Linked DNA regions of Homo sapiens: regions 2, 3, 4 and 5 are each linked to region 1. The links are contacts of gene promoters, found by promoter capture Hi-C in blood cells and fetal thymus (Javierre and others, 2016). All regions are on one chromosome and are shown on one strand. The core of a region is centred on a gene start or on the middle of the fragment in contact, and the rest is flanking DNA. Distances in the headings are between cores, read along the strand shown.

Region 1 (4,255 bases), core at 1,660-4,159:
AAGAATGGCAGGGTAAACAGATCAGCTGAATGTTTCACATCACGTGTTCACCTTTCAAAAATAATTTCAGTTCAAGATCATAGAGCTTTATAGCTCACACAAGATTTTAACTTTCTAAATAACTGTAAACTTTAAAAAATGTTTTCGCTTGCAAAAACAGAAGGATATAATAAAATGTAGAGTGATTTGGAGTTTCCAAGTATTTTCACATCCCTTATCCAATTTAATTTTCTTGATAACCCAAAAAGAGCATTATCATTAAACCCATTTGATGGACAAATAAAGTCTGCTGGGATCAACTTGCTGGGGATCCTGGACTGTAAGTCATTCTTCTGAATCTTAGTGTGGTGCTCTACCAGGCAACACTGTTCCGAGTAATGCAATTCTCTTCTTTTCCTTATTTAGTCAAAGTGTAATTGAATTAAATACTGGAGAAAGTATAAAAATTTAAAGCTACATAAAGTTAATTTTAGAAAAAAAGGTTAGATGATATACTGAAGTATCCTATTGAAAAGCCTGGCTCTTGGAAACCCATTTAGTAGAAGAAAATATAACACTTAGAAAAGCAGAACTCTCTTCCTTGAAAATATATTTAACAAATTCTTCCTATGTAATGAAACTGTTAGGGCCGGGCATGGTGGCTCACACCTGCTAACCCCAGCACTTTGGGAGGCCGAGGTGGGCGGATCACCTGAAGTCGGGAGTTCGAGACCAGCCTGACCAACATGGAGAAACCCCGTCTCTATTAAAAATACAAAATTAGCCTGGCGTGGTGGTGCATGCTTGTAATCCCAGCTACTTGGGAAGCTAAGGTAGGAAAATCACTTGAACCCAGGAGGCGGAGGTTTGGATGAGCCAAAATAGTGCCAGTGCACTCCAGCCTGGGCAACAAGAGACAAACTCTGTCTCAAAAAAAAAAAAAAAAAAAAAAAAAGAAAAGAAAACGGTTAAGTAATTATCAGCATAATTTTTATATAGCTAGGTGTCATAACTGTATTTTTAATTTTACCACACAATGTTATCCTTAGCTGTACCTATTAGGAAGGCTCAGTATCCAACACATTAGTAAAAAGCTAAAGTAATATTCAAAGCTGTAGAGAAACTTAACAGCAAGGATTGAGAGCATACCCTCAGACTGCTACCTTGTTCACATTTTTACTACCATTAATCTGATACATTGCTGTGCTCCACAGTGCTAAACACCCATCTTAATTAATAGTAGTTCTATTTAAGCATAGAAATGTCTTTTTTTGAAAGTCAGAAGTGAAGCTTCTGTTTACAAGTTTACCATATGGCAGACTGAATTATTTTTCCTACCCTACTGCTCTATAAAAGTAGAAGTAAACAGTATTTGCAATAAAATTCAGGATTTAAAACTTTTTTATTGCTAAAATCAAGTTGCCTTCATACTATCCCTTTTGTGTGGTTATAACAGGATTTATTCCTCCTCAGCTTTCATCTCTTTACCTCTTGACCACACTATTAACTACCGAAAAAAAACCGCAGCTGTACACGTACCTAGGTTTTAAAATCATACACTGAAAAACTAACTAAAATTACACTCCTAAATAACCTAAAACTGCTTCAAAGTTATATTCAATATTTTGAAATAAAAGCAAGCGCCCCAAGATGAGAGGTGCAAATAAATTATAGAAAGTGTATTTTCAGGCTTTCCAACCGCGAATGCTCTTTGTTTCTAACTGGAAAGGAGGAGTTAACAGAAAATAGAACAAGAAGAAAAAGTATGACCTTAGAGACACGTCACTTTACTTTGGTTGACAGAATTTCGTATATAAAAACATCTTAAATTGTACTTCCTCCCAAGCTTAAAGTCCTTAGAATGAGAAAACCGAAAGGCGAACCCAAGGCCAGCACATTTTATTTCCGCTGTCCCAGAAGCGCGCTGGGCGCACCCGAAGCTCCGCTCCAACAGCGCCGCGCCGCGCTCTCAGCAGCGCCTCCCGCTGGCGTCTCCCCACCCCACACCCAGGTCGCCGCCTCTGGCACACCTGGACGGCCGCAGGTGACCGGCGACCCACTCCGAGGATCTGGTAGAAACCGGCCAGGAAACCACTCCCGCCCGGAGGAGCGAGCCACTGTCAACTGGCCCGGAGGGACGTGCCCACTGCCAACCATGGGAGAGGAACGAGCCTCTGTCACCCCTGCCGGGTCACCCTGCCCTGAGGGGCGCCCACTGTCACCCCTGCCGGGAGAGGCGTCCCCATGGTCACCCTGTCCTGAGGAGCGCCGTCGCTTTCGTCCCTCCAGGTCCCCACTGCCACTCTGGCCGGGAAGGGCGTCCACTGTTATGCCTACCAGGAGAGGCGTCCCCAGTGTCACCTTGGCCAGGAGGGACGCCCACCGTCACCCACTCCCTGAAGGGGACTCAATGTCACCCCTGCCTTGAGGGGCGCCCACTGTCACCCTGCCGGGAGAGGACACCCACTGTCACCCCCGCCCTGAGGAGCGCCCACTGTCACCCTGCCGGGAGAGGACACCCACTGTCACCCCCGCCCTGAGGGGCGCCCACTGTCACCCCCGCCCTGAAAGGCGCCCACTGTCACCGGCTCTCTACGCCGTCCGCTTCGGGGTGTGGCGGTCCGGGAGGGATCCGGGTGGGGCCCCCCTGACAAGCGCACCCTCTCGCCTGGGCCCCGGCCCACCCGCTGCCCGGGGCCACCGCGTCCTCGCGGCCGCCCTCGTCGCGGACTGCACGGGTCGCAGCCTCCCGGGAGCCCCTCCGGGTTGCGGGGTTCGGCCTGCGGCGCTCGTCACCTCATGAGGTAGTCCCGGAAATCCTTGCTTCGGACATAGTCCGCCGCTTTCCGCACCAACGCGCCCGCCATGGCTGTGCCGACACCAGACCCCGAGTGGTCCCTGCCTCTGCTGCCGCTTCCCAGAGCCAATGACACCCCGGCCAACCCCCCGGCAGCCGACGGCGAGCCAGCCCGAAGGCCCGCCTCACGACACCCGGCCACGCCTTACGGCCGCGCCGCGCCGCCCGGCTCTCGGCCAATGACAGGGCGCAGGGCCAGAGATGGTGGCGCGGACTGGCTGGCTCGTGCCGCACGCCTCCTTCCCGCCCTCGGTGGCGCACGGGGGCGGGGCCCGCTGCCGTAAAACGGCTGGGGCTGGGCCGGGGCTGGCAGGCGGTTGCTAGGCTCCAGCGGCTCCCGGCCAGCGGGGACGTGGAGGTGACATTTCTCTGACCCACAGGACTGTGGGCGCCCTGCCGAGCGTCGCGCGGTCTTGGGGCGACCTGCAGTGGGGCCCCTGCGGCGCAGCGCGCGGTGGGACTGGCCGGGTTCCCGCGCCGCCCAGGGCCTGTGTCTGCGCCGGTTCCTGGCAAGGGCACCTTGGCCGGGCGGCCCGCGTCCCCTGCGCTTCCCACACCCACGTGGGCGGACCCGGCCCGCAAGCTGGGCCAGCCTGCGGTTTCCGGGCACTGGGGAGTGCGCAGAGCCCCGGGCCAGCGACCGCAGCCGGGGCCCCTGGCTTCTCCCGAGCACTTTCCCCCGGACCGGTCCCTCCAGGGTGGCGGGCGGCACCCAGGGCCGGCGCTCCTCACCAACGCGCTGCAGCTACGGGCTCAGGAGGGAGCCGCAGCGTCGGAGGAGGAAAGCATTTAAGAATAGCACAAAGCCTTAGGCTCGAGGAAGCGTGACTGCTTACGTGTTGAAAATAAAGGTTCTGTAAGTCCCACCGCGGGTGCATATTGAAAAGAAAGGGATCATTAGCACGCGACCCTCGCCTAGGAGTATATAAACCGCAGCACGACTTTCGGATCACAAAGGCAGAGAAAAGAACACATTGAAGGCTTTTGCTCACTTTTCCAAGTTGTTTCGTTTCGTTTTGTTTCTAATGTGGACGATCATTTAAAATGCCTCTGGTGGCCGGGCGCGGTGACTGACGCCTGTAATCACAGCACTTTGGGAGGCCGAGGCGGGCGGATCACCTGAGGTCAGGAATTCGAGACCAGCCTGGGCAATACGGTTAAACCCCCTCTCTACTAAAAATAAAAAAATTAGCTGGGCGTGGTGGCATGTGCTTGTAGTCCCAGCTACTTGGGAGGCTGAGACAGAAGAATCGCTTGAACCCGGGAGGCGGAAGTTGCAATGAGCCAAGATTGCGCCATTGCATTCCAGCCTGGGCAACAGAGCAAGACCCTGTCTCCAAAAAAAACAAATAAATATAACAAAATTCCTCTGGTAGCCGGGTGCGGTGGCTCACGCCTGTAATCTCAGCACTTTGGGAG
Region 2 (4,219 bases), core at 156-2,655, 740 kb after region 1:
TTAAAAACATGTTCATTACTTCAGAAGTTTTGTGCGCACAATGAGAGTAGAAAACTGCCCCAGTTATCTACCACCTTGAGTCATGGTGGCTTTAACAGTGATTTATTTACAATCTCTTGTGGCTCTGGGGGTCAACTGGGCTCGGCTGAGTGCTTCTCAGTTGGGGCCTCCACTGCAGGTACCATCAGAGAGTGGGTGGGAGCCATGTCATCCGAAGGCTCGATTGGGCTGGGGGACTCCCACATGTGGCCGGCAGGTGGTGCACTGCTGCTGCCTGGTATCTCAGCAAGAATTCCCAACCAGCTCACCATATTGACTTCCTCAAAGTTTATACAGAGTGTTACTTTAGGGGTTAACAAAGCATTTACTATCTTTTCAACTTTGCTGATAATTTCAAAAGATGACTGACACCCAGATGACCAATGTCCACAAAGTGGTGTGCCATGGCCTCCAGTGTGTGTGCTATGGCCTCCAGTGTGTGCAGAGCCTGTTTGTGAATTAAAGGCAATCACAAGGAGAAACGGTCATGGTGACCCATTCTGAGCTGTACACAGTGTCCTCTGTAGGATTGTAGCCAGAGGCAGATGGCTTTCCTAGAAATGCCTCAATGTTGAGTTTTAAAGCAACTCCTTATGACTGTTATCTGAATTTACCAAACTGTCCCTGGCTTTTCTTAGGAATGAACTTCTGATGTTGCTGTGGAATTTTCTGCCTGGAAACTTATTGTTATGAAACATGTGACTGTAAGCCACATTCCTCGCCTTTTATGCACCTCACAGTGTCTATGCAAATGAACAGTGTGATTTTAAATTTGAGGAAGTTTCAATAAGAGTGAGATCTAAGAGGATCTTTAATATAGGGGCATTTTTAGAGAGCTAAAAACCAAATAGGTCTCAGCTTTCTCAGGGTGACATATAATTTAGATTTGACTTGGAACTACAGAAGGAATATGGGGCAAAGGACATGAGAAACATTGCAGAGGTCAGTGCCATATGGAGCTTCCACCTCAGCTCTCGAAGTAAAGGCAACCAGCCCAGGCTGGGAGCCAGTCAGCAGCAGGGTCTCAATCTCCATCCACTACCTTCCCCTCTGGGGCAGGGAGGGTGTTGCAGGGAGGAGGCCACTCTTGGAGACCTCCAGATCCCTGCCTCTGTGCAGTCTAACAGAAGGGGCCCCCACAGTGGCCATGAATCTCTTTGTTCTGCAAGGAAGGGGGTGTCATTGGGCCTCCTGGGTCCCTCAGCATCTGCGTGGCCACACAACGCGGTTTTGTTCAACACGTTACATTTCTGCTTAATTAATGTTCATTTTTGGTCCCCAGCAAAGTCCAATCTGTTTTTCGTTTTCTTTCTTTTCTTTCCAGGCAGGCATTGCCAGGGCTAATCATCTATAAAAGGGCTTACTTTCTTACCTTCACGCTAAGCAAGACCATCCAAGGGCAGTGTTAGAGGGCACCTGAGAACGCAGGAGGGGTGTGTTACCTGGTGGCCTGTTTCTTCCTCCTATGGGCAGCCCTTCTACAGGAAGCAGAAGCCTCAGGGGCGATGGTAGAAATGAGGAGGAGGGGATGGAGCTGAGGTAGCAGGGGAGGGGTCGTAAGAGCAGAGGGGAGGGTCTTGCTTTGTTCGCCATCCAATAATCAGCAGGTTTCGGGTTGGGGTGAACTACTGGGGAGGAGCGCCCCAGGGCTTCTCTCAGATGGAGGAGGGACAGGTCACCCAGAGTGAAGGAAGTTGTGAGCTCTGTTAGAGGAAAACAGCCAGGACTTAGTCAGGAGAGGCTTTGTTTGGAAGGATTGTTGTAAGGCAGGGAGAGGAATGATGGCAGCAAGAGGACCCCGTGACCATAGGTCTGCAAGCACTTCAAACAGAAAAGGCCCTTCTTTTATCCAGTAAGGGGGAGCCACTGGGGCCAGCAGAGTCTTTGGAGGGGACCCTGGACAAACCCGGGAAAATGGCCAGTGGGGTTGAGCAGGACACAGGTCCTGCTGTGTCTAGCTGGTTCCCCAGAGAGATGATAAGGGGTGCGCTCCAGCTTCTCAGGCTCACTCAGGCGTGAGGACGTGGAGCTCAGGGCTCTGCAGGAAGGAGCGACCCAGGTGAGGTGTGGTCAAGATAGAGCAGAGCTGGGCAGCGGGCAGTGGAGCCTCGTGGGCAGCCTGGGGGTGGGGAGGCACAGTGCACTGGGAAGTGGAGAAAGTGTGAGTCCATCAGGCTGGCTGAGAATTGATCACGAACCTATTGTCTGTAAAACTTTTGTTATTTCCTGAGACGTGGTTCACAGCAACCCAGGTGCGAACAGCCTTGTGATTCTAGGGTTCTTTTCTATTTTTTAAGCACTTGCATCTACAAATAAATTTCTGAGTGACTTGTCGTCAGCTGCTTTCCTTGATATGTCTAAAGACAGGGCAGTGACCCGCATCGTCACCCAGAGATTCTGTCTCTGTGCCACATGAAGATTAGGTGCCCGCTTTTGATTGAGGAGCTCCTCTGTTGCTCTCAAAGTATCTTGTAATAATAGCTGAGATGCATGGAGAACCACCTCTCCTTCAGGCGCTGCTCCTCGGCTTCCGTGGACGGGCATGGCTATTTCTCGGAACCCTCTGAGGTTAGAGCTGTCATGGTCTTTCTTCTGAAAGAGGAAACCGAGGCTTGCTGGGGCTCAGTGGCCCTTCTGTGGCTGCACAGCTTTCGGGGTGGGGCCAGGACTGACTGACTCCACACAAAAGTGCTCCCGGCCCATGTCTTTAACTCACACGGCCTCTTGCAAACGTTCCCAAATCTTCCCAGTCGGCTTGCAGAGACTCCTTGCTCCCAGGAGATAACCAGGTAAAGGAGTATGAAAGTTTGGGTACAAACTCATTGCTGCAAATTGAAAACCATGCAAAGGCTGTCTTCCTCTGGGGAGTTCAATGCCTCTCTTTTTCTTATCACTTTACCATTGGTTGGACTTTGATTCCAGGGATCCTACGATTACTCAATACCCTACAGGATATACATGGTTAACCATTTGCATTTGGGCAAATAGGCGTTACTTTTCAATAGGAAGTGGCAATCCAGAACTTGCTTTTGGGCAATTCTAGTAGCTCACCGCTTTTTTCTTAATGACTGCTAGAAGCTGCATCTTATTGACAGATGGTCATCACATTGGTGAGCTGGAGTCATCAGATTGTGGGGCCCGGAGTGAGGCTGAAGGGAGTGGATCAGAGCACTGCCTGAGGTGAGCATGCCAAGGCCCCTGAGACTTTTCTTTCAAAAATGTAACTTCTTTGATCCCCTAGTCTGACAGGAATGGGACTGTTTTACTCATTAATCTTCCAGAATGCTGGCATATTGACCATGTTTATGCTTAACGACACAGACTTCCTTTCCTGAAAGCATTGACTTTATGGTTTTAGGAAGCCCACTTTTCCTCTAAGTGTATAGTAAGGGATTTCATACTCGCTCCCTGCACTGGAGCTTCGGTGATGGTCTGGGTACTTGCTCCTCATACAGGAGATATCCTCAGGGCATCAGTCTGGAGAGGAATGTGATTCTTTATTTGATCAAATACACTGAAAGATTTTGGAAAACAAAAAAATTAAGCTAAGAAATATTTTGGAGGCAGTAAGTCATTTATGCAATGAAGGCTGATGAGTGGGCATCCCGGACAGCCTAAGATTGAGCAGGAAGGAGCTTGTGAGGGGGAGTTAAGAGAAATTGACAAGGTGGAAATTTCAACAAGTCTCAGTTGCAAAGCTCTCATGAGGGCTGCCAATGCCACTGTGATTATGAAGGCAGTATCTTATGACCAGAAAATAATACACAATGATATTAAAGGGAGCCAGGCTAGGTGCAGTGGCTCATACCTGTAATCTCAGCACTTTGGGAGACCAAGCTGGGTGTATCAGCTGAGGTCAGGAGTTCGAGACCAGCCTGGCCAACATGGTAAAATCCCGTCTCTACTAAAAATACAAAAATTAGCCAGGCATTGTGGCATGTGCCTGTAATCCCAGCTACTTGGGAGGCTGAGGCAGGAGAATCACTGGAACTTGGGAGGCGGAGGTTGCAGTGAGCCGAGATCACGCTACTGCACTCCAGCCGGAGATCAGCTCCAAAGTCCACTTAGCAGCAGGACATAGATATTGTAGAGATCAGCTTTATAAAGAAAAACAAAAATGCAAGGCCATAACTAAAGCTATTCTTTAAATGGTTAAAGATGTAATTTCTGCAAATAAAAC
Region 3 (4,233 bases), core at 1,393-3,892, 710 kb after region 1:
GAGCGACAAGAACAAAAACTCCATCTCAAAACAAAACAAAAACAAAAACAAAACAATACAAAAAAGCCCTGAAGAATTTGTTAAATGATCTAGAGGAAAAGGCATATGGCATACATGAACAGATGGGAAATTTCAGCAGAGAGATAGAGAGTATAAAAGACATGTGGGAATGCTACAAAAAATATATAAGACATAAAGAATTCCTTCAGAAAGCTTATCAGTGAACTAGTCTCAGCTGAAGAAAGATTAAGGAACTTGAAGATAGGTCAACAGGAATCATATAAAATGACACACAAATAACATAAAATGGGCTGGGCACAGTGGCTTATGCCTGTAATCCCAGCACTTCAGGAGGCCAAGACAGGTGGATCACAAGGTCAGGAGTTCAAGACCCGCCTGGACAACACAGTGAAACCCCATCTCTACTAAAAATACAAAAATTAGCCTGGTGTGGGGGCATATGCCTGCAGTCCCAGCTACTCGGGAGGCTGAGGCAGGAGAATTGCTTGAACCCAGGAAGCGGAGGTTGCAGTGAGCCAAGATTACACCACTACACTCTAGCCTTGGCGACAGAGTGACACTCTTGTCTCAGAAAAAAAAAAAAAAAAAAAACAACAAAAAAAAAAACATAAAATAGAGGGAAAAACTCTGTCTAACAAGGCCTCCAAGAGCTGTGAGATCATCTAATGTACATGCAGTTGGAGTCCCAGAACAAGCAAACAAACAGCAAGGAATAAAACAGAAGAAATATTTAAAGAGATAATTTGCAAATATAATGCAAGACAGCAAACCTCAGGTCCAAGAAGCTCAGGGAATCCCAACAGTATAAATACAAAAACAAATAAAAAATCTCCATACCAAAAAAAAAAAAAACCCCACCTAGACACATAAAATCAAACTTTTTAAAACCAAAGATAAGGAGAAAATGTAGAATGCATTTGGGAGTTGTGGGGGACATTACATACCCAAGAAGAAAGATAATTGTAATAGATTTCTTGTCAGACATGTAAGCTGGATGTTAATGAACTGACATCTTAAAGTACTGAAACAATTAATCCAGAATTCTATTATTCTATTACAGATCCATTAAAATATTGTTTTAAATTAAAGGCAAAAATAAAAGCTTTTTAGACCCTGAAAAACTAAGATAACTCACTGCTGAGAGACTTGTGCTACAATAAATGTTAAAGGTAGTTCTTTAGGCTATAGGAAAATTATACCAGATAAAAATTTGGGGTTACACAGAGAAGTGAGCACCAGAAATAGTAAAAGTGGATATTAAAAACATTTTCTCATGGCTGATTCTTTAAAAGACTGTCAACTATGGTGGCCAGGTGCAGTGGCTCATGCCTGTAATCCCAGCACTTTGGGAGCCTGAGATGGGCAGATGGCTTGGGTTTAGGAGTTTGAGACAAGTCTGGGCAACATGGTGAAACCCTGTCTCTACAAATAATACAAAAATTAGCTGGGCATGGTGGTGTATGCCTGTAGTCCCAGCTACTCAGGAGGCTGAGGCAAGGAGGTTGAGCCCAGGAGGGTGAGGTTGCAGTCAGGCATGACTGCACCACTGCACTCCAGCCTGAGCAACAGAGTGAGACCCTGTCTCAAAAAAAAAAAAAAAATTGTTAACTAAATTAAAAATAGTAAACAGGGTTTATGACAGATGTAGAAATAAGATACATGAAATCATTTGCACAAAGTGGAGGAAGGAGTTGGAACTATCTAATGTCATAAATGCAAACTACTAAGGAATGATAATATTCTGAAATTGTCAGTTTTTTTTAGGCAAAGTAATAATTTCAGATCAGTTGCTAGTATCAATGAACTATCAATGTTTGAAATGTTTTCAGTATAAGTAGTTCAAGGGTCAGTATGAAACTTAAATTTCGAGGGAAAAAAACTAACATCATTTAATTCTGTGGTTTTCAGATTTAGCTAATATCAGAATCACCTGGAAGAGTTTGTTAAGCAAAGTTTCTGAGCTTTCTGGGCACTATCCCTGAAAAGTCTGATGTCACACATCTCCTGGAGGTAACGCCTCTCTGTTTAACAAGCAGCCTCTGCAGCCAACAGGTTTTGCTTCTCTGGGGAGGAAGTTGACCTCAGCTGCAGTGACCTTCCTGGAGAATTAAACAGAGGGGTGCAGATCCTTACACATGGCCCTCTACCAGGATGACGACCTCCCTCTAGAACAGGAGATACTAGTTTTACTGGTTAATGGCAGAGCCGAGTCAGGGGAGGCCAGAACCAGGCAGAAGTAACTTGAGTTTTCAGCTCTGGAGAGACTGCAGCCTTGGTCAAAGCCAAGAAAATCCCCGTCCTTGCGTTATTGAAGTGGTCAGTGTGAAGAAACAAGAACTCCCCAGACACTGGATCTCTTTGATTGATCTAAAGACCTTTCACTCCAGGCACATGGGGCCCATGAAAACTGTGGGCCCAGCAGCATATCACACCAGCCTCTTGGTGTGGTGCTCTCTGTGGTTCAGAATAGGAGCCTCTCGGGTCACTGTAGGACCCCACCGGCCCCTTTCCTCCAGACATAGGCCACAGATCAGCAATGTATTTTAAGCGACCCCGTTGGCGTTGGGCCATGTGTGTGGCATCTCTGTGGCAGCAGGTGGCCACATGCTCCTGAGTCTCAGACTGGAGGTGAATAGGGCAGCAGAAGAAGTCACCAGTGTTGAGCCAAGTCACAAAGAATAGGGCCAGTGGCAAGGGTGATGAATGGGTCAAGGGGATTGTAGTCAAGGAGCTGTGGGCCAGGGCTGGGCTCCATGCAGGATTGTGCCTGGGGGACCATCGTGGGAAATGGCTTCCTTTGAGCTCCTCAAATGGAAGCAAGAGTCAGCCTGGTTTTCTTCCCTCCAGGGAGCAACACAGAAAGGATTTTCTTTCTTCCACACAAGAGGAAGTTTTTAGGCTCTGCCAAGTAACCAAAGTAATAGAAACTGTGATGTCTCCAGAACTAGCCTCCAACTTCCTCCAGGTGGCAGGAAGGGGAGCAGCCACCTCGCCTCTGTGGCTGCTTTGTTTTTCCCTTCTTTTCTTGTTCCTCCATAGCCTACTTCCTCCATTTTGGGGTTCCTGTATGTAAAGTACTCATTGACCCAGAGATTGTATCTCAAAACCTTGTACCCAAAGGAGCAATTTTCCTGTGAACGTTCCCAAGACAGCGTTCCCAAAAGGTGTTACCAGCCTCAAGTCAGCAATCATAGTGTGGAACGGCGGTTTAGTTGTTGAGTGGAATCTCTTAGCAATCTTCCGACAAGCTGGATCAATCAAGTGAAGCTAGATTTCTATTGTTGATTTTGTTGTTTGTATGTTCTCATGACTTAGGCATGACCTATGTGCCTCTCCTCCTCCAGCTCTCCAATTTTCGCCATCCACTGTGTGTCAGACTCAGGCCTTTGAGGTGCCTGCATCTCTATATACCACACATGAGGCAGGTAGGGCTCAGAAAGATTAACAACTTTACACACATCACCCCATTAGGAAGTAGTAGGGTCAAGAGTCGAGATTCAAATGCTGATATAATTCCCAAGTCTGTGCTCTTAACCAGCAATATCATCTTCAAGTTCAGCAAAGAGTGTTTTGTGTTTCTCTATCCAAATGATGCCCATCTACTCTGTACCATCTATGAGCGTACACCATCTATACTCTCATATCCTCACGTGCCCATTTTTCCTGTAATTCCACTTCTTAGGCTTGTTCCCTTTAATACTATAACCAAGCGAGGGAATTTCCACTTTAAAAGGGAATTTGAAAGAGTAGAGTCTCATGTGACTTCCATTCATTTCCCTGACCTGTAGTTGTCCAAGGGACAGAGGGCGTCTTTGCATGTTCAGTCAGTCTAAACAGCTTTATTTGGCAAGATGTTTACCAGTTTCCATGGTCTTTGGCAAGATGTAAACATGGGCAGAGGGTCCCGAGTAAGAAGAAGTTGGAAAGGAAGTTGCCTGGCCACCGATGAGGCTTCGCGTAACTGTTCCACATAAAGGTCGTCTACTGTTTTTTTTTTCTCTTTCAAGTTAAACCTCTTCCCCTTTTTAGATGACAAGTCACAAAGCTGATCTACCCCAGATTGTGGCAACCTCACCCTATCTATACATCAGCTAAAGGCTGATCGAAGATCAGGTCTAAAGATTGTTGCAAAAAATGAGATAAGCTTTTAAAAAACCCCAGATTCTTTAATTTTGTATGTCAGTCATCAAGTCTTCATTCACACGCTCACTC
Region 4 (4,250 bases), core at 1,751-4,250, 590 kb after region 1:
AATAAACACATCTAGACATGTAGACCCACACATAAACGAAGAACCAACAGCTTGGAACCTTAGCTGTGAGATAGCAATACAAGCTTGTTGGCATTTACTTTGTCTCAATAGATAATCCAACAAAGGCTGTGAACCAAAATTTCAGGTAAAGCAGTCTCCATGGAGCTTGATTTTTCAAGACCAAACCTCTCCAGATTCCAAAGAACACTGGGGCCAAACAGCACCCAAGGAGCATGTCACATGTTAACCAGGCCCCCTGCTTAGAACAGCAGCAACAAAGGCTGGATACATGCAATGCCATCCCACTTTCCCATTCAACAGGAAACTCCAGATTCCAAACTATACTGGGGCTAAACAGTATTGCAAACCGGAGAGAAAATTCTAAGGGGGGCTTAGTACTAGACCTCAAAACCTCTGCCGAGAGCACCCCCTTTGGAGAGGTTGAGATTCGGAGGATCCTCAGGGCGTCCCCCTATGGGGTCCAAAAGAGTGTCAGACGTCTCTGACCTTTCTCTGCATGTTTTCCCTCCAGAGCCTCCTATGAGCTATGAGCTTGATAAGGATAGCCCTGAACTGTAATGATACATAGGAACTGGATGCTGGGTGGGCTTTTTTGTCCTTAGATAGTTGAATAGGACAAGCAAAAAACTTAGCATAAGAAAAGGTTTAAGTCACCTGAAACAAGTGTGAGTTACCACCACCACCGTAGGGATCAGGGACCACACCTGGAAAAGATAAAAAAAAAAAAGAGTCATTCCCCCTTCTGGGTAGGGCAATTATTCCCATTCACTCTTTGGCCTTCAGGCGATACCAGGGAGTGACCCCAGCGAATTGCCCTCAATTTCCAAGAAGCTACTAGGAAACAGCCGCTAAAAGACTGAAAAACAAACAAAGGAAAAGAAAAAAGAAAAACACTCAGGTCCCTTAAGTGAATAGGGTGGTGGTGGTTAGGCACCTCCACATGGAAACCCCTTATTTCACTGGTCACAGCCAGAAACCTGCAGTTGCTTCCATGTTTCTGCGCTTCCCACCAAGGGTCCCGAGGTGGAAAGGAACAGACAGACAGAGAAAAATCTCCCTGTATGTAAAAGGGGAAAGGAGAAAAATAAATCCCAAACTTTGGGCCTACCTTCTCCTGGCTGGCTCGCCAAAATATGTTACCGGTGGAGGGTGTCCAGTTTCTTGGTGTCTTGAACAAAGAATTAGACAAAAGGCACAAACAAAATAAGGAAGGAATGAAGGGATTTATTGAAAATCAAAGTACACAGCTGGGCGCAGTGGCTCAAGCCTGTAATCCCAGCACTTTGGGAGGCCGAGGTGGGTGGATCACCCTGATGTCAGGAGTTCAAGACCAGACTGGCCAAGATGGTGAAACCCCGTGTCTACTAAAAATACAAAAATTAGCTGGGTGAGATGGCGGGCGCCTGTAATCCCAACTATTCGGGAGGCTGAGGCAGAGAATTGCTTGAACCTGGGAGGCAGAGGTTGCAGTGAGCCGAGATCAGACCACTGTACTCCAGCCTGGGTGACAGGGCAAGACTCTGTCTCAAAAAAAAGAAAAAAAAGAAAAGAAAATGAAAGTACACTCCACAGTGTGGGAGCAGGGCTGAACAGAGGGGCTCTAAGGCCCCGTTACAGAATTTCTGGGAGTTTAGATACCCTCTAGAGGTTATATTCCATTGGTTACTTTGGGTGCACCCTGTGTAAATGAAGAGGATGAAGTAAAGATACACAGTCTTTTACTCGGTGTGCACCCTGTGGAGAGGATATTTCCTGTAATAGCTGAAGTGTGAATCGGCCTTATGTTCCCTGCTTCCAGACCCTATTTTTCTGCTTCAGTTTGGATCTGTGTACCCCGACCAAATCTCATGGGGAATTGGAATCCCCAGTATTGGAGATGGGGCCTGGTGGGAGGTGATTGGATCACGGCGCGGAGTTCTCATGAACACCTTAACAGCATCCCCCCTCGGTACTGTAAAGTGAGTTCTCATGAGATCTGCTTGTTTGAAAAGTGTGGAACACCTTCCCCTTCTCTCTCTTCCTTCTGCTCCAGCCATGTAAGATGCCTGCTTCCCCTCTGCCTTCCACCATGATTGAAAGTTTCCTGAGACCTCCGGAGAAGCAGAAGCTGCTATGCTTCCTGTACAGCCTACAGAATCGTGAGCCAATTAAACCTCTTTTCTTGCCAGGCGCGGTGGCTCACGCCTGTAATCCCAGCACTTTGGGAGGCCGTGGAGGGTGGATCACGAGGTCAGGGGTTTGAAACCAGCCTGGCCAACATGGTGAAACCCTGTTTCTACTAAAAATACAAAAATTAGCCGGGTGTGGTGGTGGGCACCTGTAGTTCCAGCTACTGGAGAAGCTGAGGCAGGAGAATCACTTGAACCCGGGAGGCGGAGTTTGCAGTGAGCCTAAAAACAAACAAACAAAAAACTCTTTTTTTAATAAATTAGCCAGGTATTTCTTTAGAGCAGTGTGAGAACAGACTAATGCAGGGTGATCATTTGGATCTAGCTGCAAAGAGAAGTTTGACGTTTGCATTCATTGAGCCCTTTTAGAAAAGATCAGGCAGCTAACTGTTGGCAAGGGTATAGAAACTTGTGTGCTGGAAATCAAAAGGCCTGAGTACCTGTCCATATTTCCTGCAACTTGAGGGATCTCTGTATAGAAATTGAGAAAGAAAAGAAACTTTATCTGAGGAATGCAAGCCTGCTATAAATTATAGACCCACAGAGGCATGAGAGTGAGGCAGCAGTCCATCCCACCACCCGCCTTGAGCTAAGTAATCAGCTCTTGAAGCTGCTTGCTATGTGGGCTCTAGACCAGCTGCTGCCACAAGCAGCTATCAACTAACCAAGCAAGGCCACTCACTGGACACCATACTCCATACCCCACAGTTCACCAATGTATAGTCAATCACTAATCAATCTTATTTGTCTAACCAATGGGAATTCCTGACAAACAGCTGTATCAGCCCACTCCCTGTCCCTCTTATTGCTTTGGAAAACCTGCTTCTGTCAAAGGCCTAACAGAGCTCATATCCAAGGTGACCTGGGTCTGAGTCTTCCAGGTGGCTGTCCTCTCAACTTGGCTCAAGTAAACTTTTTTTTAACTGTTATTTTAGGTTTGGGGTACATGTGAAGGGAAACTTGCATCACGGGGTCCTTGTCGTACAGATTTTTTCATCACGCAGGTACTAAGCCCAGTACCCAATAGTTATCCTTTCTGCTCCTCTCCCTCCTCCCACCCTCCCCCATCAAGTAGACCCCAGTGTCTTGTTTCCAACCTATGTTGTTCATGATTTCTTATCATTTAGCTCGCACTTACAAGTGAGAACATGTGGTATTTGGTTTTCTGTTCCTGTGTCAGTTTGCTAAGGATAATCGCCTCCAGCTCCATCCATGTTCCAGCAAAAGACATGATCTTGTTCTTCTTTATGACTGCATAAACTCCTTAAAATTATATTTTGTGGCTGGGTGTCCTAGCACTTTGGGAGGCTAAGGTGGGTGGATCACCTGGGGTCAACAGTTCAAGACCAACATGGTGAAACCCCGTCTCTACTGAAAAATACAAAAATTAGCCGGGCATGGTGGCGGGAGCCTGTAATCCCAGCTACTTGGGAGGCTGAGGCAGGAGAATTGCTTGAACCCAGGAGGTGAAGGTTGCAGTGAGGCGAGATTGCGCCATTGTACTCCAGCCTGGGCAACAGAGCAAAAACTCCGTCTCAAAATAAATAAATAAATAAAATAAAACCAAAGTATATTTTGTGCCTCAGTTCCTTCTTTTAGGTCAACAAAATAATAAATTATTTATTGGCCGGGCGCGGTGGCTCACGCCTGTAATCCCAGCACTTTGGGAGGCCACGATGGGCGGATCACGAGGTCAGGAGGTCGAGACCATGCTGGCTAACACAGTGAAACCCCGTCGCTGTTAACAATACAAAAAATAGCTGGGCGTGCCTGTAGTCCCAGCTACTTGGGAGGCTGAGGCAGGAGAGTGGCGTGAACCTGGGAGGCGGAGCTTGTAGTGAGCCGAGATCGCGCCACTGCACTCCAGCCTGGGCGACAGAGCGAGACTCCATCTCAAAAAAAAAGAAAAAAAAATTATTTATCATTATTAAATAAGAACCCATAGATGTAACGCTGCTGTGTGCAAACCTAAATGTCAGTCATATCGTGGAGTAGAAAAAGAGAAAGTTGAAGTTCTAGACCCAGCTTTGCCCCTTACTAGCCTTGGGTTCTGGAGCAAGC
Region 5 (4,245 bases), core at 920-3,419, 630 kb after region 1:
TTGGTTACATTTGTGTGTGTATGCATGTGTGCGTCTGTTTGTGTGTTTATGAGTTGTTAAAGGTAAGACTTGATTTCAGAGATTAAGCATAATGGGAAAAAAAATGAGCTCTACACTTTGAATTTAAGATCCAGGATATGTAGGAATGGATAGAAAGATGATTGTCAGGAAATTTGTTTTCTCAAGAGCACAGCATGAATTGGTAGTCCCAGGCGGTCTTACCAAAGGATAGGTTGGGGTCTGTCTTAGTCTGTTCAGGCTGCCAAGTACCATAGATTGGGCAGCTTACAAACAACACATTTTTCCTCACAGTTCTGGAGGCTGGAAGTCCAAGATCACGGCATCACTGTGGTTAGGTCTGGTGAGGTCCCTCTTCTAGGTTGCAGAGAGCTGCCTTCTCATTGTGTCCTCACGTGGTGGAAAGAGGGTGAGAGAGCTCTCTGGGGTCAGGGCCCTAATCCCATTCACAAAGCCTTCACCCGCATGATCTGCTCACCCCGCAAAGGCTCCACCTTCTGATACCATCACATTGAGGGTTAGGATTTCAACATAGGAGCTGGGGGTTTGTGGACTACACAAACCTGCAGTCCATGACAGGTCGGGTTTGTATTCTTTGACTGTCCCTTTGATTTTCATCCCATAGGAATAGAGTGATGCTGTGGAGTCCATTCCAAAAGATGAGGTCCCATGTGGGTTTATGGTGGTGGATCGACTCTCAGATACAGTTGCATCTTTTTAAATAGATGAACTTCCAGGACGTAGTGATTATACTACACGATACCTTTCTTTTTTAAATGTCTAGGCACAGAACATTGCTGAACGATTGCTGTTATTTTTTGCTTGTTCTTTGATGTTGTTGCTCCTTTTTATTGTTTAAGTTTGGAAAACTAAGGAATTTTATACTTCATTTCTAACCAAAGAAACAACTATTGTATTGTTTATAGTTGCTCCTTCTGAGATTTCTAGTTGGTGTAGGGAAGGCCTTTTTTTAAAATTTTTTTTTTCCTAAATACTCATAGGAGGCTATAACCCCAGTGATAGAGTAAGGTCATGAGTAAATTTTTAAAATTTCTTTAAATTAATTGCAAATAAAACAGCCTATGTAAGTAAGCTTTACTTTTCATGAAAATACCTGGCTTTAGAAAAATTAAAATTAATGAATATTCCAAAATACTTATCAGTACCTATAGCATTTGACTATTTGGAAGCTCTTTTTAGCAAATTATTACTGTTTTTAAAGCAAATTAGCAATCCTAACCTATATATAATGTATGTCTTCAGGGTAAAATATTAAAGTCTATTTTACGTACTCTTATTCTCCCTACATACATTTTAAGATCTAAGAATTATAATGAGAATCTCAATGTTTTAAGTCAGTCAGGAAATGATGCTGTGAGTTTTTCCAGAGAAGGGGGGACTGTCCTGAGGCTGCTTTAGAGAATAGCGTTTGTCCTAACAGCTGTCTCTGCCGTCATCCCGTTATTCTAGTTTAGTCTCCGTTTCTCAGTTGGCCTCATAAACCCACTTCAGAAATACCCTAGATAGTCCTTGTGTAGGGTTGCATCTGTTCTAAAATAAACCCTTATTTTGGCACTTAAAATGCAATTTCTCTAGTACTAAAGGACCTGGATTTGGGATCCAGTACTTTCCCTACCGTCTTCTTGCTAGCTACCTCCTACCAAATCAGCCTTGAGGGCCCACGGAGAATGCTAGAAACTCTCCAAGAGTAGGGTCCACCCAACCTTTAGGAACCAGCTTTGTGTGCTCCTGAGAAAGGTCAGATGAGGTCAGGACAAGTCTTCAAGGAAGTTGCCTAGGAACTCAAGTGAGGCTTATTTAGAATGCTGCTAAAATGTAGCATGAAAGAGCTGATTCTCCACCCAGTAGAAGCTGAGCAGGTGGAGGCTAAGGTATCTGTGTTTGACCTAGTAACTATTGGAAACAGTAAACATGAGGTAGATCACTCTAGGAATAGTTAAGAAAGGACCAAAAAAAGCAGGCCTCACAGAACATATTAACTAGATGTTCCACTTCTGAGACATTTTTCAGTAGGTATCTTTGTTTGGTAATGAGTTAGTTTATTTTTTAAAGATTTCTATTTTGTGGTAAAATCTCATTTTATTCTCATGCTCAGATACCAAGGTATAAAGGACAAGGTAAGAAGAAGACAAGCGGGCAGAAGGCTGGTGACAAGGTAACATGCATGAGGGCAGAGGAGAAAAGCAGCCTGTGGGCATCAGGTCTCGACTCTGGGGCCTCCTGGAGCGCTGGGCTCCTGTCAGATTGGGTTCTCAGTTTTCTTATGAAATGTCACTTGAGGCTGGGCTAGGTGGCTCACGCCTGTAATCCCAGCACTTTGGGAGTCCAAGGCGGGCGGATCACTTGAGGTCAGGAGTTCGAGACCATCCTGGCCAACATGGTGAAACCCCGCCTCTACTAAAATACAAAAATTAGCCGGCCGTGGTGGTGTGCGCCTGTAATCCCAGCTACTTGGGAGGCTGAGGCAGGAGAATCGCTTTAACCCGGGAAGCGGAGGTTGCAGTGAGCTGAAATCGTGCCATTGCACTCCAGCATGGGTGACAGAGTGAGACTCTGTCTAAAAAAACAAAAAAGTAACGATGGCATGAAATAAAAAGTAAATTTCACTGTCAGTTTTTATCCAGGTGAAAATCATACTGTTGAATCTTAAAACCATGCTCTCAGTTTTACTTTGAAAATTCCTGTTGTGTTGGCAATTAGAGTTGAAAATACGTATTTTTCTTTTGAATGGATGATTATATACATATTAGTAACATTGTGATTTTTATTTGAGGAAAATAGAACATCAAACTATTTTTTTGAATACGTACCTATTGATAAATTAAAAATTAAACGTATTTCCTCCAAGATGTTTTTGTGTTCTGTCATTTTTCAGACAATTGCACATTTGTGATCCTTTATTCAGTGCCCCTGCTCACAGTAGACTGCTGGGGGCCAGTGCTGCATACTACCAAGGCCTTGGCTGCTTTTTCATCCTCTCCTAAAGATCACAAAAATTGACTAATCCAGTAGATTAGCTGCTTATGAAATTTAAATATTAGAAGTTTTAGAAACATTATCAGTACAGTTTTTACATGTACTTAGGATAAGACAAAATATTTAATTTTCAGTTCTGTGAGATTCATTAGTCCTATGCTGAACTTTGGTTATGTATAGATTTTTTCACTAGGTTGAAAATCTTCAAACTTAAAGCTTTTTAAAAATTCCACCTGTTGTGTTAGATGGCTTTAGTTCTAGGAGTTTCAAAGGTAAATTCCTATTACTGTATTCTCTTTCTGTTCACACTGTTCTTTATGCGTTATTAAACAAGAAGTTGCTTTAAAATAATGATTTAGTAAGTTTTTTTTAACATTTACATAGTGAAAGTTATTGTGTGTTAATGCTTTGGGCAACACATTTAACACAGTTCTCACTTAAGGAGTTTATAGTTTAATTGGAGAGATGAGACATACCTTAAGTAAGATATAAAACTTCTTAATAGATTTTAAAAATCAGTTTCTTGGGCTTTTCTAAAATTTAAAAGCATATTTTATAGTATTAAGCTTTTATAATCTTACTGCTATTGTGGGTTTCAAACAACTTAAACATTTTCAAGAAGTTTATACATAGAGCCAAGGCATCCTAAGAGATGTGGTTTTCACTTTGTGTGATGTGAAATAACTGTGATGGGCCCAGACTTTAGCTTTCGCGGTACTTTGGGCAGAGTGTAGTGTGTGCCCTGACTTGAGAGGGGATTGAAGAATCTAGGTGGGCCCATATCCCAGGATTTAGTCCATAATTTGGGTCTCTTCTATTTCATTGTTGTGTTCCTGAGGCCAGGATGCTTCCTCAATTACTTGGAAACCTTTTTCCCTGTACATTTCTGATCTTGTTTCTGAACTGCCTTGTGAGAAGTCTGTATTGTACCCCATGTGGCCTATTGCCAGCCTTACTTATATGGGTAAGCCCTTAGCTCTTTGTTCCCCTGCCTTTCTGCTTTGCCTTGTGCATGCAGTGAGTTCCCAACAGCCTTAACATTCTCAACATCTTCATCATCCAGATGCTATGTTGCATGTGGTGGTTGAGGTTGTACACAGCAAGACTCCAGATGGAGCCATCCGCATGGTAGGTGAGTGGCATCTCCCAAGGTATGCAAAGCCATCATGGGAGCCCTGCCTGTCCTGCAGACGTGAACTGGGCATGCGATGCAGGAGGGCCTAGGGTACC

Evidence for each region. The method cuts DNA at HindIII sites, captures the fragments that hold promoters and counts their contacts. A CHiCAGO score of 5 or more calls a contact.
Region 2: a fragment that was not itself captured here is called in contact with the fragment with the promoter of MPC1 in region 1 in 1 of 17 cell types (naive CD4 T cells); the score reaches 5.5 in naive CD4 T cells.
Region 3: a contact is called between a fragment that was not itself captured here and the fragment with the promoter of MPC1 in region 1, in 1 of 17 cell types (non-activated CD4 T cells). The highest score is 5.8, in non-activated CD4 T cells.
Region 4: a contact is called between a fragment that was not itself captured here and the fragment with the promoter of MPC1 in region 1, in 1 of 17 cell types (naive CD8 T cells). The highest score is 5.5, in naive CD8 T cells.
Region 5: a fragment that was not itself captured here is called in contact with the fragment with the promoter of MPC1 in region 1 in 1 of 17 cell types (fetal thymus); the score reaches 6.1 in fetal thymus.

Annotation. Positions count from the first base shown.
Region 1 is chr6:166,380,031-166,384,285 of GRCh38, forward strand. It overlaps MPC1 (mitochondrial pyruvate carrier 1), which reads right to left and starts at 2,910. Exons shown (of 5, transcript NM_016098.4): 1 at 2,776-2,910. The coding sequence starts at 2,846. MPC1-DT (MPC1 divergent transcript) reads left to right here and starts at 3,148. Exons shown (of 1, transcript NR_189630.1): 1 at 3,148-4,255. RefSeq lists an enhancer at 2,053-2,232 and silencers at 2,593-2,692, 2,843-3,582. The HindIII fragment of the contact is 5,196 bases long and covers 1,824-4,255 here.
Region 2 is chr6:167,120,005-167,124,223 of GRCh38, forward strand. CCR6 (C-C motif chemokine receptor 6) reads left to right here and starts at 3,092. Exons shown (of 3, transcript NM_031409.4): 1 at 3,092-3,219. The HindIII fragment of the contact is 5,763 bases long and covers 1-4,219 here.
Region 3 is chr6:167,087,377-167,091,609 of GRCh38, forward strand. No RefSeq gene overlaps it. Among named protein-coding and RNA genes, the nearest start is that of CCR6, 34 kb to the right of the region's middle. The HindIII fragment of the contact is 3,042 bases long and covers 1,122-4,163 here.
Region 4 is chr6:166,972,064-166,976,313 of GRCh38, forward strand. It overlaps LOC105378120 (a long non-coding RNA gene), which reads right to left and starts at 2,849. Exons shown (of 5, transcript NR_188001.1): 1 at 2,339-2,849; 2 at 1,130-1,189; 3 at 676-725. The HindIII fragment of the contact is 5,838 bases long and covers 82-4,250 here.
Region 5 is chr6:167,011,374-167,015,618 of GRCh38, forward strand. CEP43 (centrosomal protein 43) reads left to right here. Exons shown (of 13, transcript NM_007045.4): 7 at 2,135-2,194. Among named protein-coding and RNA genes, the nearest start is that of CEP43, 14 kb to the left of the region's middle. The HindIII fragment of the contact is 2,120 bases long and covers 1,110-3,229 here.